2 separate regions of the Homo sapiens genome follow, and region 2 is linked to region 1. The links are contacts of gene promoters, found by promoter capture Hi-C in blood cells and fetal thymus (Javierre and others, 2016). All regions are on one chromosome and are shown on one strand. The core of a region is centred on a gene start or on the middle of the fragment in contact, and the rest is flanking DNA. Distances in the headings are between cores, read along the strand shown. Region 1 holds the start of ASIC1 (acid sensing ion channel subunit 1). Region 2 overlaps NCKAP5L (NCK associated protein 5 like).

Evidence for each region. Contacts are between HindIII fragments. The CHiCAGO score rates a contact against its expected background, and 5 or more counts as called.
Region 2: a fragment that was not itself captured here is called in contact with the fragment with the promoter of ASIC1 in region 1 in 1 of 17 cell types (endothelial precursors); the score reaches 5.2 in endothelial precursors.

What each region holds. Positions count from the first base shown.
Region 1 is chr12:50,052,807-50,059,347 of GRCh38, reverse strand. ASIC1 (acid sensing ion channel subunit 1) reads right to left here and starts at 1,752. Exons shown (of 12, transcript NM_001095.4): 1 at 1,432-1,752; 2 at 220-597. The coding sequence starts at 581. RefSeq lists silencers at 1,550-1,719, 1,790-1,949. The HindIII fragment of the contact is 9,166 bases long and covers 832-6,541 here.
Region 2 is chr12:49,804,549-49,811,089 of GRCh38, reverse strand. It overlaps NCKAP5L (NCK associated protein 5 like), which reads left to right. Exons shown (of 13, transcript NM_001037806.4): 2 at 5,049-5,110. Among named protein-coding and RNA genes, the nearest start is that of NCKAP5L, 21 kb to the left of the region's middle. The HindIII fragment of the contact is 1,750 bases long and covers 2,642-4,391 here.

The DNA of each region.
Region 1 (6,541 bases), core at 503-3,002:
TCGAGCTGTTCTGGACTATGCTGGGATCGGAGGCTGGGTGCCCTTAACTGGGTGCTCAGCAGCACCCTAACTCCTCTGCTGTGAGTGGCAGGTTTGGGGGTGGGGGTGGGTTAAAGGGCAGGGTTGGCTGGGCTCTATGGTGGGTCAGGGAGGCAGACATCCTGACTGGAACTCAAGCAACTCCAGGAGCAGGGCTGAGGGAGGGTGGGAGCCACCCACCTGTTGTTGAGCAGGGCCAGCAGCTCCCCAGCATGATACAGGTCATTCTTGGAGACTTGGCTAAAGCGGAACTCGTTGAGGTTGCACAGCGTGACAGCAGGGAAGGTAAGCTGAGAGGCAGCCACCTCGTCGAGCTTGGTGACATGGTGGTAGTGGAAGTAGTACTGCACACGCTCCGTGCACACACACAGCAGCACAGCCAGGGAGCCCAGGAAGCACAGGGCCCACAGTGCCCGCTTCAGAGACAGCCGCTCGTAGGAGAAGATGTGGGCCAGGCCGTGCAGTGTGGAGCTGCTGGCGAAGGCCTGGATGCTCACCGGCTGGACGCCACCCACCTCCTCCTCCTCGGCCTTCAGTTCCATCCTTGTTGAGGGGATCCTGGGGGAGGAGGGAGGGACAGTCTATCATTGTCCTGGGATGAAAGTACACATGGAGCCCCTCCACATGTGCCCATCCAGAATCCTCATCTCCAGAGGTCACCACTCCTCGGGCAGAAGACTTCCCTGCTTTGCAAGCCCAGAGGTGGCTGACCAAGGGACACATCCAGGGTTCCTCCAAATACAGAGGCACAGGGGGTCAGGTCAGGCCAAGAGAATGCTCCCCAGAGAAGCTTCCCAGGCCCGGGGAGACCCCAGATATAGTCATCCGAGGTTGAGGGGGAAGTCCTGATGCACCCATAGGCAGGCGCAGGAGTTCCCTCCAGATGTGGGGTCACTCTGGGACAAGAATATCCACCCCATCCTGGAGATGAAAACTCACCCAGATGGGCTGACCCCGGGGTAAGGAGCTCCTGTCCTGGTCACGGGTATTCCCTGGACGGGGCTGTGGTCCTAAGGGCTAAACTGGGGCCAGAAAACCCCCAGGGAGGTGGCTACATCTAGGGAGGGGCCCAGCCTGAGTCCTCACCTGCGGGTGTCTCCAGTTCTCACATAAGCGCAGGCTGTGTGTATGTTGGGAGTGGGGGGTGGCGGGCTGCCCGAGGTGGATGTATGGAGGGGGGGCGCGGTTCCCTATGACAGCGAGCTGTCCCCGCCCCGGACGCAGCCCCCCCCAGTCCAGCTTCTCGTCGCAGTCAGATCCCCAGCTCGGCCCCCGCCCCCCTCCCCAGCCACCGAGCCGCCCCAGCAGCAAGGGAAATCCAGAGGGAGGAGAGTCCCGGCTTCGGGGTACCGAGGAGCCTCGCGGCCAAAGGCAGGGGTATCGGAAACCCACCTGAGGGGGCTTCGGCAAGCCGGCAGCCGGCGGCGGGTCCTGGGGCGCTGGACCGGTGGCGGGCTCAGCGCCGAGTCGCGGAGGGGCTCATGGCCCGGGGCCGGAGCCCGCGGCCGCCGCGGCACGCCGCGCAGAGCCCTGCAGGGAGCGCCCCGCCCGGCCCCGCTCGGCTCCGATCTGTCCGCCCGCCCGCGCGCGCTGGCTCGCTGGCTCGCTCGCCTCGGCTCGGTCTGCCCGGGCTCGGCGCGGTGCGCGGTGCTCTCAGCCCTGGGATCTGCAGGGATCCATCGTCCGGCCGGGAGGCGGCGGGAGGGGAGGGGGAGGGGAGAGGGTGCGCGTGCGCGCCTACGAGTGTCTGCGAGGCTGTCTCTGGGCTGGTGTGCGCGCGGGGCCCCGGATCCGGGAGCGGGACCCAGGGCTCCCCGCGCCGCCTCGCCCCTCCTCGCGGCCGCTTTCGGCGGCGCTGCCTCTCTCCAGTCCCGGAGCCGTCTCCCTGCCTGCGAGGCCCTATGGCTTGTGTGTATGACTCTGTGTGTGGTGTGTGTGCGCGCGCGCGTGTGTGCGCGCAGGAGGGAGGGTGTCTGCCCCTAGCGTCCCTCTCCCCGCGCTGTCTCCTTCGGATCGATGCTCCTGCCTCTTGCTGCTGCTTCCTCTGGTGGCACACACGCGCGTACACACACACATACACACACACGCTCCGAGTCACACTTGACTAATTCAAGCACTTAGCCCATATGGAGACAGACACACATACCGACCAGAGTCACACCACACCATTCACAACCACACCCCCCCGCAACAGATGTCCACGTATCCCGGGGGCCTGACCCACATGGCAAGCACTCACCTGCTCTTATCCCTGCTCCCACCTGCATGTGACACATATACACGTGCACATATGTGAGCCAACACGCAGCCTTGACCACTCAGATCCCATCCTTGTAGCTTTGGGCTTGTGGGGGGCATGGTCGCAACCCCTTACTGCCAAATCTCCAAAGAAGGAGCAGAGAAAAGGAAGGAAAAATAGCCAGAGGTCAAGGGAATTTGGACAGAAGGAAGGAGGCAAAGGGAGTGAAGGGGACAGGGTGAGGAAGGGTTGGAACGGGGAGCTATGCTCAGGGATGGAGCAGAAGTCTCAGCACAGAACGCAGGCCTGGGGGCTGCTCCTGTGGCTCTCACCTTTCTCCTTCCCTGCCTCCCTCCTCTTCTCTGAGAGGCCTTGGGGAGGGGGGCCCTCCCTATCCAATTAACAGAGAAGGAGCAATCAAGGGGAAGTTGTTAATTTGCTGATGCTCATTAGGGGCTCTTAGCACAGAGGCTGTTGAGGTCTGATGGTGTCAGATGATGAGGAGGAGGGTGCGGGGGACCAGAGTTCTGTCTCTAGTGGCTCCTTCGCTCTACTTGCAGGCTGGTGCGGCTCGGGGAGAAGGATGGTGAGAGGTGTATTCCTAGGACATGGTGCCGGGCTTTAAGTTAGAAGAAAACCTGTAACGAGAAGGGGATGGCACATTGGAAAGAAGTTGGATGAGAAGTTGGGAGTAGTGGACATCTAGGAAACCAGAGAAGGGGTCTGGAGGTCCCTAGTGGGAGAGTGGACTTAAGATTGTGGAGGAGGGAGGTCGAGATCCATTTACTAGGGGACTGGACACGGAGCTGCCAAAAGGAAGGGAGGATCTTCCATTCAGGTCTTGGGGAGCTGTTCAGCGGTACCAGGCAGTGCTGGAGGGTTGCTATGCCCCCGGGCAGCCACTGGGTGGCAGCCCTCTCCCAGATACTTAGAATCAACTCGTGGGGGGCATTTGAGAGTGGGAAATCACCTGGGAGGGTCCCAGAGACCTGAGGAAGCATCAGGCAGAGTCTGATTCCTGAATTCCAAATATCCTCAGGGGGAGGGGAACACTATTTTGGAGCATCTGTAATTTCCCCACCTCCCCGCGGCTCGCAGGCTGACTGACACGTGGAGCCTCTTCAAATGGCTGCAATTGCTTCAGTCACCTGGGATGTTACTGAGGGAGCAGCGGGGGTGGAGGGAAGGTGATGAGGTGAGGTGGAGGCAGGCGAGGACTGATTGAGGCCAAGGAGCAGCCTCAGGAGGAGTCTGGGGGAAGACAGAAGGTATGAATCAGGAGAATCAGCTTCCAGACCTGGCCCTGCCATTCATTAGCATAGGCAGGCCCCTTGACCTCTCTGGACCTCGGTTTCCTCATCTGTAAGGCAGAGATAATATTTATTTCACAGGATTTTTCGAGGATTACATGAGCTAACGCATGGAAAGTGCTTAGTACATTGGCATGTACCTAGTAAATCCCAATAAGTAAATAACTATTATTAGTATTAGCATTTGGATCTAGTGGTAAAACCACCAGTGCAGCCAAACCAGGGCAGAATCTAAGGCACTGGTTCTTAACCCAGGCTGCACATTCGAATCACCTGGGGAGCTTTTAAAACTGCAATGCCAGCTGGGCGCGGTGGCTCACTCCTGTAATCCCAGCACTTTGGGAGGCAGAGGAGGGTGGATCGCCTGAGGTCAGGAGTTTGAGACCAACCTGGCCAACATGGTGAAACCCATCTCTACTAAAAATACAAAAAGTAGCTGGGCGTGGTGGCGGGCACCTGTAATCCCAGCTACTCGAGAGGCTGAGGCAGGAGAATCATTTGAACCTGGGAGGCGGAGGTTGCAGTGAGCCGAGATTGTGCTATTGCACTCTAGCCGGGGAGACAAGAGCGAAACTCCATTTCAAAAAATAAAAATAATAAGATAAAACTGCAATGCCAGCCAGGCGTGGTGGCTCACGCCTGCAATCCCAGCACTTTGGGAGGCCGAGGTGAGTGGATCACCTGAGGTCAGGAGACCAACCTGGCCAACATGGTGAAACCCTGCCTCCACAGAAAATACAAAAATTAGCCAGGCGTGGTGGCACGCACCTGTAATCCCAGCTACTCAGGAGGCTGAGGCAGAAGTGCTTGAACCCGGGAGACAGAGGTTGCAGTGATCGGAGATCGTGCCACTGCACTCTAGCCTGGGCAACAGAGCGAGACTCTGTCTCAGAAAAAAAAAAAAAAAACTGCAATGCCATGGCTCCACTTTAGACCAGTTAAATCAGAATCTCTGGGGCTGTGGCGCGATCTTGGCTCACTGCAAGCTCAGTCTCCTGGGTTCACGCCATTCTCCTGCCTCAGCCTCCCAAGTAGCTGGGACTACAGGCACCCGCCACTACACCTGGCAAAGTTTTTTGTATTTTTAGTAGAGACGGGGTTTCACCGTGTTAGCCAGGATGGTCTCAATCTCCTGACCTTGTGATCCACCCGTCTCAGCCTCCCAAAGTGCTGGGATTATAGGCGTGAGCCACCATACCCGGCCTTTTTTTTTTTTTTTTTTTTTAAGTTGGGGTCTCACCCTGTCGCCCAGGCTGGAGTGCAATGGCACAATCTCGGCTCACTGCAACCTCCGCCTCCCCGGTTCAAGAGGTTCTTCTGCCTCAGCCTCCCGAGTAGCTGGGATTACAGGCGCACACCACGACGCCCGGCTAATTTTTTGTATCTTTTGTAGAGCTGGGGGTTTCACCATGTAGGCTTGAACTCCCGACCTCAGGTGATCCACCCACCTTGGCCTCCCAAAGTGCTGGGATTACAGGCATGAGCCACTGCGCCCGGACAATCGCCCAACTTTTTGAGGCCTTTAACATATAGCCAATCTTGAGCAACCTTGCTCTTCAGAACTTATGGGTCTGAATTATGGTTTCATAGTGTCACAGGCCCCAGTCTTAGGAAGTTCTTTCTTATATACAACCTAAATCCCTCATGCTGTTGTTTCTTCTTCGTTTGAGAAGTGATGGGTCCTTGCACACACACATCCCCTCATCCCTACCCTGTACATCGCAGCAAACCTTCACCGAGGGTTTTCCTGGATCAAGCCCCAAGATTGGCCCTGTGGACATGGTGAGGATTGGCAGAGTCCTTGCCTCAAAATATCCCAGTGTGGAAAGAGAGACAAACATGTTGACTTGTGACTCTAGTGCAAGGGCCAGGAGTGAAATAGAAGGCTGAGCCAGGGCTGCCAGCAGAGAGAGGCAGGGGGGCAGTCACTCTGACAGGGGTTTGTGGGACAAGGATGAGGAAAAGAGGAAGTTGGTGTTGGCAGGGCCTTAGTAAGATAACACTTGAGGGATCCAAGGGCTGTGATTAGTGTCTCATTACTTCTTTCTGCTTCTCTGGCCCACCCACCCCTTGTCCAAGTCCTGACAGAGGATACTGGCTCCTTCAGCATCCTCCCAGCTTCTTCTCCATGCTTCGTTTTCTCTGGACCCTGCAGTCCTTAGACCTCAGTACCCTTTATCCCCACCACGGACTGAGAGGGAAACAGGCCTGAAGATATTTCTCCTTCTGCTGGCAGGAGGCATCTAGCCAGGGCCCACTTAGGACTTTGGCCTTGTGCTCACCTAGGTTCAAATCTCAGCTCTGTCACACCAGTGCTGTGTGGCCCTGGGCAAGTAACCTAGCCTGAGTCTCACTTTTCTCCAGAAACCATAAAACCCAGCTAATGCCCATGCTGTTGAAACAATGTGTGTCTAGCAAACAGTAGGGGGTGTTCCATCAATAGTGGCAAGCATTATGATCATCCCTGAAAGGCTGATGGGGGCAAATTCCCCATGGATGCTTCCCTTGCAGATGGCCCCATCTGCTTTAGGTGCAGAAGCGCCCTCCAGCCTCTCAGAGATGGGTGAAGAGGGAGGGTAAAGAGGGGGACAAGACCCCCTGGGATTTCCAGGCAGCTCTTCTCCGCTCCCCCGTGCATGAAATCACACGCGCCCCAATCTGTCTGCATCCACTTCATCTGCCGGCTCAGCAAATGCAGAGACAATTAAGGAGTTAATTAGCACGCACTGGGAAGGGGCTGGGGACCTAAGGCTGATGGGACCCAGCAACACAGCCTCCCCACCCTCCATACTCAACGTTGTCCCCCCACCACCTGCCAACCCATAACCCTCATCTTTTCCACTGCTTTCTCTTTTTACTAGTCCAAACACTCCTCTTACCCCACTCCCACACTTACCTGCTATCCTCACCCTTTCTCCCCCACCTTATGCTATCCTGTCTCTTTTCTCTCATT
Region 2 (6,541 bases), core at 2,267-4,766, 250 kb after region 1:
TATCTAAAATTAAATGTAAAATTCAGTTCCTCAGTTGGACTAGCCACATTTCAAGTGTTCGGCAGCCAGGTGTAGCTAATAGATAGCTTCCATGTTGGATAGTACAGACTAAGCATGTTCATTATTACAGAAAGTTCTACTGGACAGCACTGTTCTAGAAAAATGACTCCAACTTTTTGGTCTGAGGACCCTTCTATACGCTTAAAACTTGAGGACCCCGAAGAGCTTTTGTTTATAAATGTTATACTTACAGTTATTTAATTAATTTGTTTAAAAATAGCAATAAACCCATCACATGTTAACATATTTTATTTAAAAATTTAATTGTATATGTTCCAAAAACACAAATAATAATAAGTCATTGTTCTCTATTTTTGCAAATTTCTTCTGTCTGACTTAATAGAAGGAAGCTGGCTTCTCCTGTCTGCTTCGGTATTCAATCTTTTGCGGTATCACACAGCATAGTATCTGGAAAATGCCACTGTACACTCAGGAGAGAATGAGAGTAATAAAGGCAGATAGTGTCTTAGTAGTAGTATTAGGAAAACAGCTTTGACCTTACAGACCCCTGGAGAGGGCCACAGGGTGCCTAGGCCCCACTGTGGGAACCACTGTGGCAGAACAACAACCACTTGGCGTGAAGAAACTCATCTCGGGGAGACGGAATGATTTGCCTAGTCACACAGCACATAAGTTAATTGCAGAGTTCGAACTGGACTCCATGCCTAGACTCTTCTGCCTTCCGGTCTAAGGCTGTTTCCAGTACCCTCGGCTGGGCTAGGACGGCCTGGGCTGGACTTTTGGGAGTGGGGCCTGGGCCACTTGGCTGCAGAGCCCCTGGTGTGTGGTCCTATAAATAAACCCATTGTGTCGGCACCCCTTCCCTCTCCCCACCCCCTTCCCTCCCCCCACCCCCGGCAGCTGCTAGTTTTGTTACTGGGTTATGCTGTGGACAGGGAGCAGGAGGGCTCTGAGGGAGGGGAGATGAGGGATGTTGAAATCTGGAGGCCTTTGGGGCTTATAACACGACTGCCCTTCCTTCTTCCCTTCCTGGAAGGGCCGAGGACCTATCCTGCAGCTGGTTTGGAAGAACTCACACCATGGTGGTTGAGGTGCTTGGAGTGCCTGTGAAACGGAAGTTGGGGGGATGTAGGGGGCCCCTTCCAAGACAGATGCCTCTCAGAAGGGCTATTGTGTCTCCAGTACCAGTTGTCAGGAGGAGGGAAGGAAATTCTTGTCTGCCCTCTTACCCTGAATGGGGAGGAGACCAGTTGGAATTCTCAGGGCTGAAAGATGCTTTGGGTCAGGGATTAAGTGGCCCCTTTCAGGCTAGAAGTGCCCTGGGAGCCAGGCCTCAGTCCTCCTATCCCTCCCCACACTCCTCAGCAGCCCAGGGCTGATCTTGGCTGGAAAGGGTGTTTGCTGTGGGGACAGAAGTTGCTGTTTACAAGTGGATTCTTGGGTGTGACTGGTAAAAGGGCTGGGAGGGTAAGAGGGATTCCAGAAAGCAGCTGGGGAGGGTGCGGAGGGAAGCGGTTGGTGTTACGGGTGATTCTGTGATTAAGTGAGCTCTCCATCTCTGCCTTCCTACAGCTGCCCACCCTCCCCCACTCCTGGTCCCTGGCTTCTCTCCCTAGAGGACTCTGGGGGGAACAGCTGGTGAATGAGGGGCTCACCAGGGGCCAGGAGGCCTTGGCTAAGGGCCGGGGTGAGGGAATGAGGACAGGCTTGCTGCCGCCTGCCTCTCCAGCCCCTTCCTCCCATGCCTGGTCTCTGTTCAGGGAGGGGTCTTGCCTGTGCCCTGCTGGAGAGGAGGTAGGAGCCACAGACCCCTTCTGGTCTGGCTAACTGAAAGGCCAGGACAGTAAGATCTCTTTGGAGGCCCTGAAAGCCCCTGTCCCCTCCTGGCTTTAAGGGGGAAGGGAGAGCTGGGGCCCTCCGTGACTGACTTGGCTGAAGAGATGGTGGTCGCCCAGGTTACCCAGAGACCCCTGAGCAAGTTTCCTCCTTCCTCGGCCCTGGCTGCCTGAAAACTGGCCCCCTCCCCACACCCTCTGAAGGACGAGCCAGAGAGGACTCCGCTCTTCTCCCCCCTCCTTCTCTCCCTCCCCCTGCACTGAGGTCACCTCCCTCAGAATCAGGCCTTTGTGGATGGCAATTCCGGCGGGAGAAGCCTCCAGTTCAAGTTAGAGTTCCCAGACCCTGCCTGGCCGGCACTGTGTGTCCAGACCCAGCGTCCCAGACGTGTTGGGGCCACCAGAGGAATGTCTGAAACCAGAGCCATTCCAAAAACCCGAAGCCTGGGGTTTTCCCTGCCCCAGGTCGGGCTGAGCTCATGGCTGTGAGCAGGAGCTGTGGGTCCTGAGGGAGGAGGCGGTGCTCAGCCCCTGGGGAGGCAGCAGGGACCACCACTGCGAAGCCTGCCTGGGCAGGCATCCCCCATGAGAGGCAGGCAGAAAGCCCAGACTCCAGAGGGCCACATTCCTGACTTGGCTTCGATTTGGAGCTGGTGGTGGTGGTCTCTCTCTGGATCTTGACCTTCCCTAGAGAAGGGTAAGGACGCAGGAAGTTTTCTTTAGAAATCTTGAACTCAGACTCTGGGCCGACTCTCATGGCCCGTGCTCCTCCCCACCACCAAGCTTTCCTGCAGGTCTCTTCCCCGTGACAGCTTCCTGCCCTCCACTGTGACGGCCCTGCAGATGCAGAGGAGGCCCCCTCATCCTGGGCTGACCCCAGACCCCCTCGCTGTGAGGCCAGAAAGTATTTCTCCTGAAGAGGGGCTGAGTCCTAGCCCCACTCCAGCTGGGGCACTCTGAGAAGAAGAACTGTGACCACTGGCTGGCTCATAAATCGGAGGGTCTCCCCCATTCTCAGTGGAACTCGGGCCTCCTGGCCTGGGATTCACAGGGGCTCAGCTGTGGATCGGGGCCATGCCTGGCTTTGTGTGGAGTGTGTGGGGTCTCCATGCTCCTCAACACAGAAAACCACTGCGTGCACACATAGAGAGTCCGCAGCCAGTCCTCACAGCCTGGCCTTGCTCTTAACCTGGATGCTTTTTTATTATTTTGGGAAAAGATACTCTACATTGTTTCGTTGTTGCTTTCTTGTGAAGAACACAAATCTTAGGGTTTCCCGGTCCTTAGCGTTATCCTTTTCCAGACCCCGAATGCTGCCTTCTTCATCCCATTCCTTTCCCTCACCCTCCCAACTTTTTTCTCTTCCTCCACAGCATACCTCAGCCACACCCTAGCCCCTCTGATGGTGAGGGGATTGAGGGACACGCTGGGGACCGATGGGCAGGTTGCTGCAGGCAGTGGGAGGACAGTGGCCCAGAGACCAGAGTTGTGGGTGAGGGTGGCACTGGTCAGATGCTGGAGGTGACCTGAGACATTCTGGGTTTCACCCCATTTGAGTGTGGGAAGGAAGATAATTCTTAAATATTTTTCATTTTTTTTCCAGGCCTGTATATTTCTAAGTCTATCAAACGTGATAATGTTATGAGCAAACCAAGTTAAATATGATACATTTTTATGATGTTAAAATAAAAAACTTCAGATTATTATACAGTATTAACAATAAGCATTAGAGGCCAGGCACAGTGACTCGTGCCTCTCATCCCAGCCACTTGGGAGGCTAAGGCAGGAGATCACTTGAGCCCAGGAGGCCAAGGATGCAGTGAGCTATGAACGTGCCACTGAACTCCAGCCTGGGCAGTGAGGTGAGACCCTGTCTCTTTAAAAAATAAAAAAATCAGTATTAAACAGGTCTTCCTTTTCCTCCAAGTGTTTTCAGAAGTCCCCTTCCCACTGTTGTGTACACACACACACACACACACACACACACGAAGAAGCATTCTCTCTTTTCACTGTAATCCCAGCCCCCAAACATCCAGCTGCTTCTCTTTCTGGGGTATAGAAGAGAAGAGGGAAGGCAAGGCTGGCCCTGGGGCTGGAGGGCCGGCTGGGAGGAGTTGGAGAGGAGGCCTCTGAGGGCAGGGTGGGCAGAGCAGCATTCTGAGATCTTCAGGTGCCCCTATAGCGGAGACCCCTGGGTAAGGGCCCTGGGACTCGGAGTCGGCCTCTGTGTGAACGGACAAGGTAGCAGCAGGCTCCACAACAACCCCATAGCTTTGTACTGTGCCTCTGTCAGCAGGTGATGATATGAAAAGTCTCCATTTATGGAATTCACGCCAGACACTCTACATATATTATCTCATTTTGTCCTCCAACAACCCTTTGGGCTAAGTGTTCTTATCCCTGTTTTACAAGTGAGAACAAGAGAAAAGAGATTCTTTAGTGTCAGATTTCTAGCCCAAGTTTCTAGCCTCCAGGGAGCCTTAGGGCTGTACGGAGCTTAAATGTCTGTTTTACTGTGGAGCTTACAGTGAAGCTTGGGTGTGTGCAGAGGAGTGGGAAAATCTAGGCCTGTCTGGTGTGCTTTGTGAAGTAGTCATGTGACTTGGGCAATATCCTCTGCCCCAGAGCCTGCCTCCTCCCGCAGGCGGGTGCTCCCCTTCCAGGGTTGTTAGGAGAACTGGATGGGATGGTGTGGAAGAAAGCGCCTGTGCTATTCATCACACTGGGTAAACACAGTGTGTGCAAGTGTAACTTTCTGTTCCTCGGTTTCCTCATCTGAAACACAGGCACTGATAATAGCATTTAACATTGTTGTGGTTAACTGTTGAGCACGAGGCAAGACAATGTATGTTGTAGAACCGGGTTGTAAAGTACCAGGTGTGACTTTTCAGTCTCCTCTGTTGTCTGATGATTCCTGGCTGAGAGATGGGGACCTTTGCACTGGCTCTTTCTGCTGTCCCAAATGCTTTCCCATTCCAGGATTTCATCTGGACTTCATTCAGGTCTCTGCTTAATTGTCATCTCTCAGTGCCTTATCACAACCCAACGCTGTACATTGTCGGCCTCGTCCAATAGAGTGGAAGCATCATAGCGGCTGGGCTGTCTCTGGCTGTTCGTCCCGTGTCCCAGTGCCTGGCACATAGCAGGAGCCCAGTAAGTGCGTGGCTGACGTCTTTTTTTTTTTCTCCACAGGCAAGGTGACCGTTCTGGATGCTAGAGTGAGTGTGCCCACCTGCGTAAGGGGGCAGAGACAGGTGAGGGGCTTTGGGGCCTGTGCATGCTGGGGGTGGGAGAGGCACCCCTGGGCTCCACTGTGGAGGATAAGGAAGCAAGCACTCAGATGGCTCGATGGTGAGCTGCTGAGGACACCTCTCTCCTATAGTCCAAAAGCTCCAAGCCTTTTTATTTTTGTTTTGAAACGGTCTTGCTTTGTTGCCCAGGCTTGAGCACAGTGGCGATCATAGCTCACTGCAGCCTCGAACTCTAGGGCTCAAGGGATCCTCCCACTTCTTTTTTTTTCTTTTGGTAGATGCGGTCTCAGTATGTTGCCCAGGCTGGGCTTGAACTCCTAGCCGTAAGCCATCCTCCCACCTTGGCCTCCCAAAGTGCTGAGGTCACAAGGCATAAGCCACCACGCCCAACCCCATTTTTCTTTTGTGGGGGCTTCAATGGCACAAGGGGTAGTCAGTGATGGACCAAGCTTCCACCCTTTTATAATAGGAAGGGTTGCCCATCTACTGGAAACCTCCACAATATTTGTATGAAAGAAAAACAGCATTTTTCTCTAGCAGAGAAATTGGAACTCAATTGGAAGATGAAGACTAGTCAGTTCAAGCTAGCAACAATGGCAATGGTTTGGTGGGGTGGGAGGATCCCATGGTGTGATGCAGGTCTGAGCCCTGGCCGTGCTGGATGTGGTCATGAGCTTCGTCTAGTCATCAGTCTGTCTCCTACATGCCAGGGATCCCACCAGGAGGCATGTGAGTTTGGATGGGGAGGCAAATGCAGTGTTCCTGCCCTCACGGAGTTGACTGTCTGGTGGGGGAGGCTGGTGTACAATCTTGCAGGAGCATCGCCTGGGAGCCCTGAAGGATGAATAGGGAGGAGCTGGCCAAGTCGAAAGGAGCGGGTGGTGTCAAGAGACCCCAGCAGAAGGACCATCGTGCACAAAGAGCCTGATCTGACGGGGCCTAGCTCCTGCCAGGGCAGTGGGTGCCTAGTGAGGCTGGAGCTAGAAAGCAGAGCCCCGGAGGGGTGCAGGGCACTTCCCACTTTGTCCAGGAGGAGCCTGAGGCCCAGGGATCGGGACCTTGCCCTGGGATAACCCAGCAAGTGAGCACTGGAGCCAGAGCTAGAGCTAAGGGCGCCAGGCCCCAGGCTCAACTGTATTCTCCCCATGTGCTGAGTCGTGTTCTCAGGGTGCTCTTCCCTACGTGGTCACATTTGACTCTCACAATGACCCTGTAAGGGAGGAAGAATTCTTCTGCCCATTTCTCAGAACTAGGAAACTGAGGATCATCTGGTTGACCGAGTGAATGAATGAGCTCGGTTTTCATATGTTCACCCAGTTCATACTAAGCAGAGCCAGGCAGAGGCTTTTGGCCGCAAAGCCAGGGTTTTATCCATTGTCTCCACTATCTAAAGCATGTGCCTGCTCCAGGCAGGGGATCACCGATGCCCAGGAC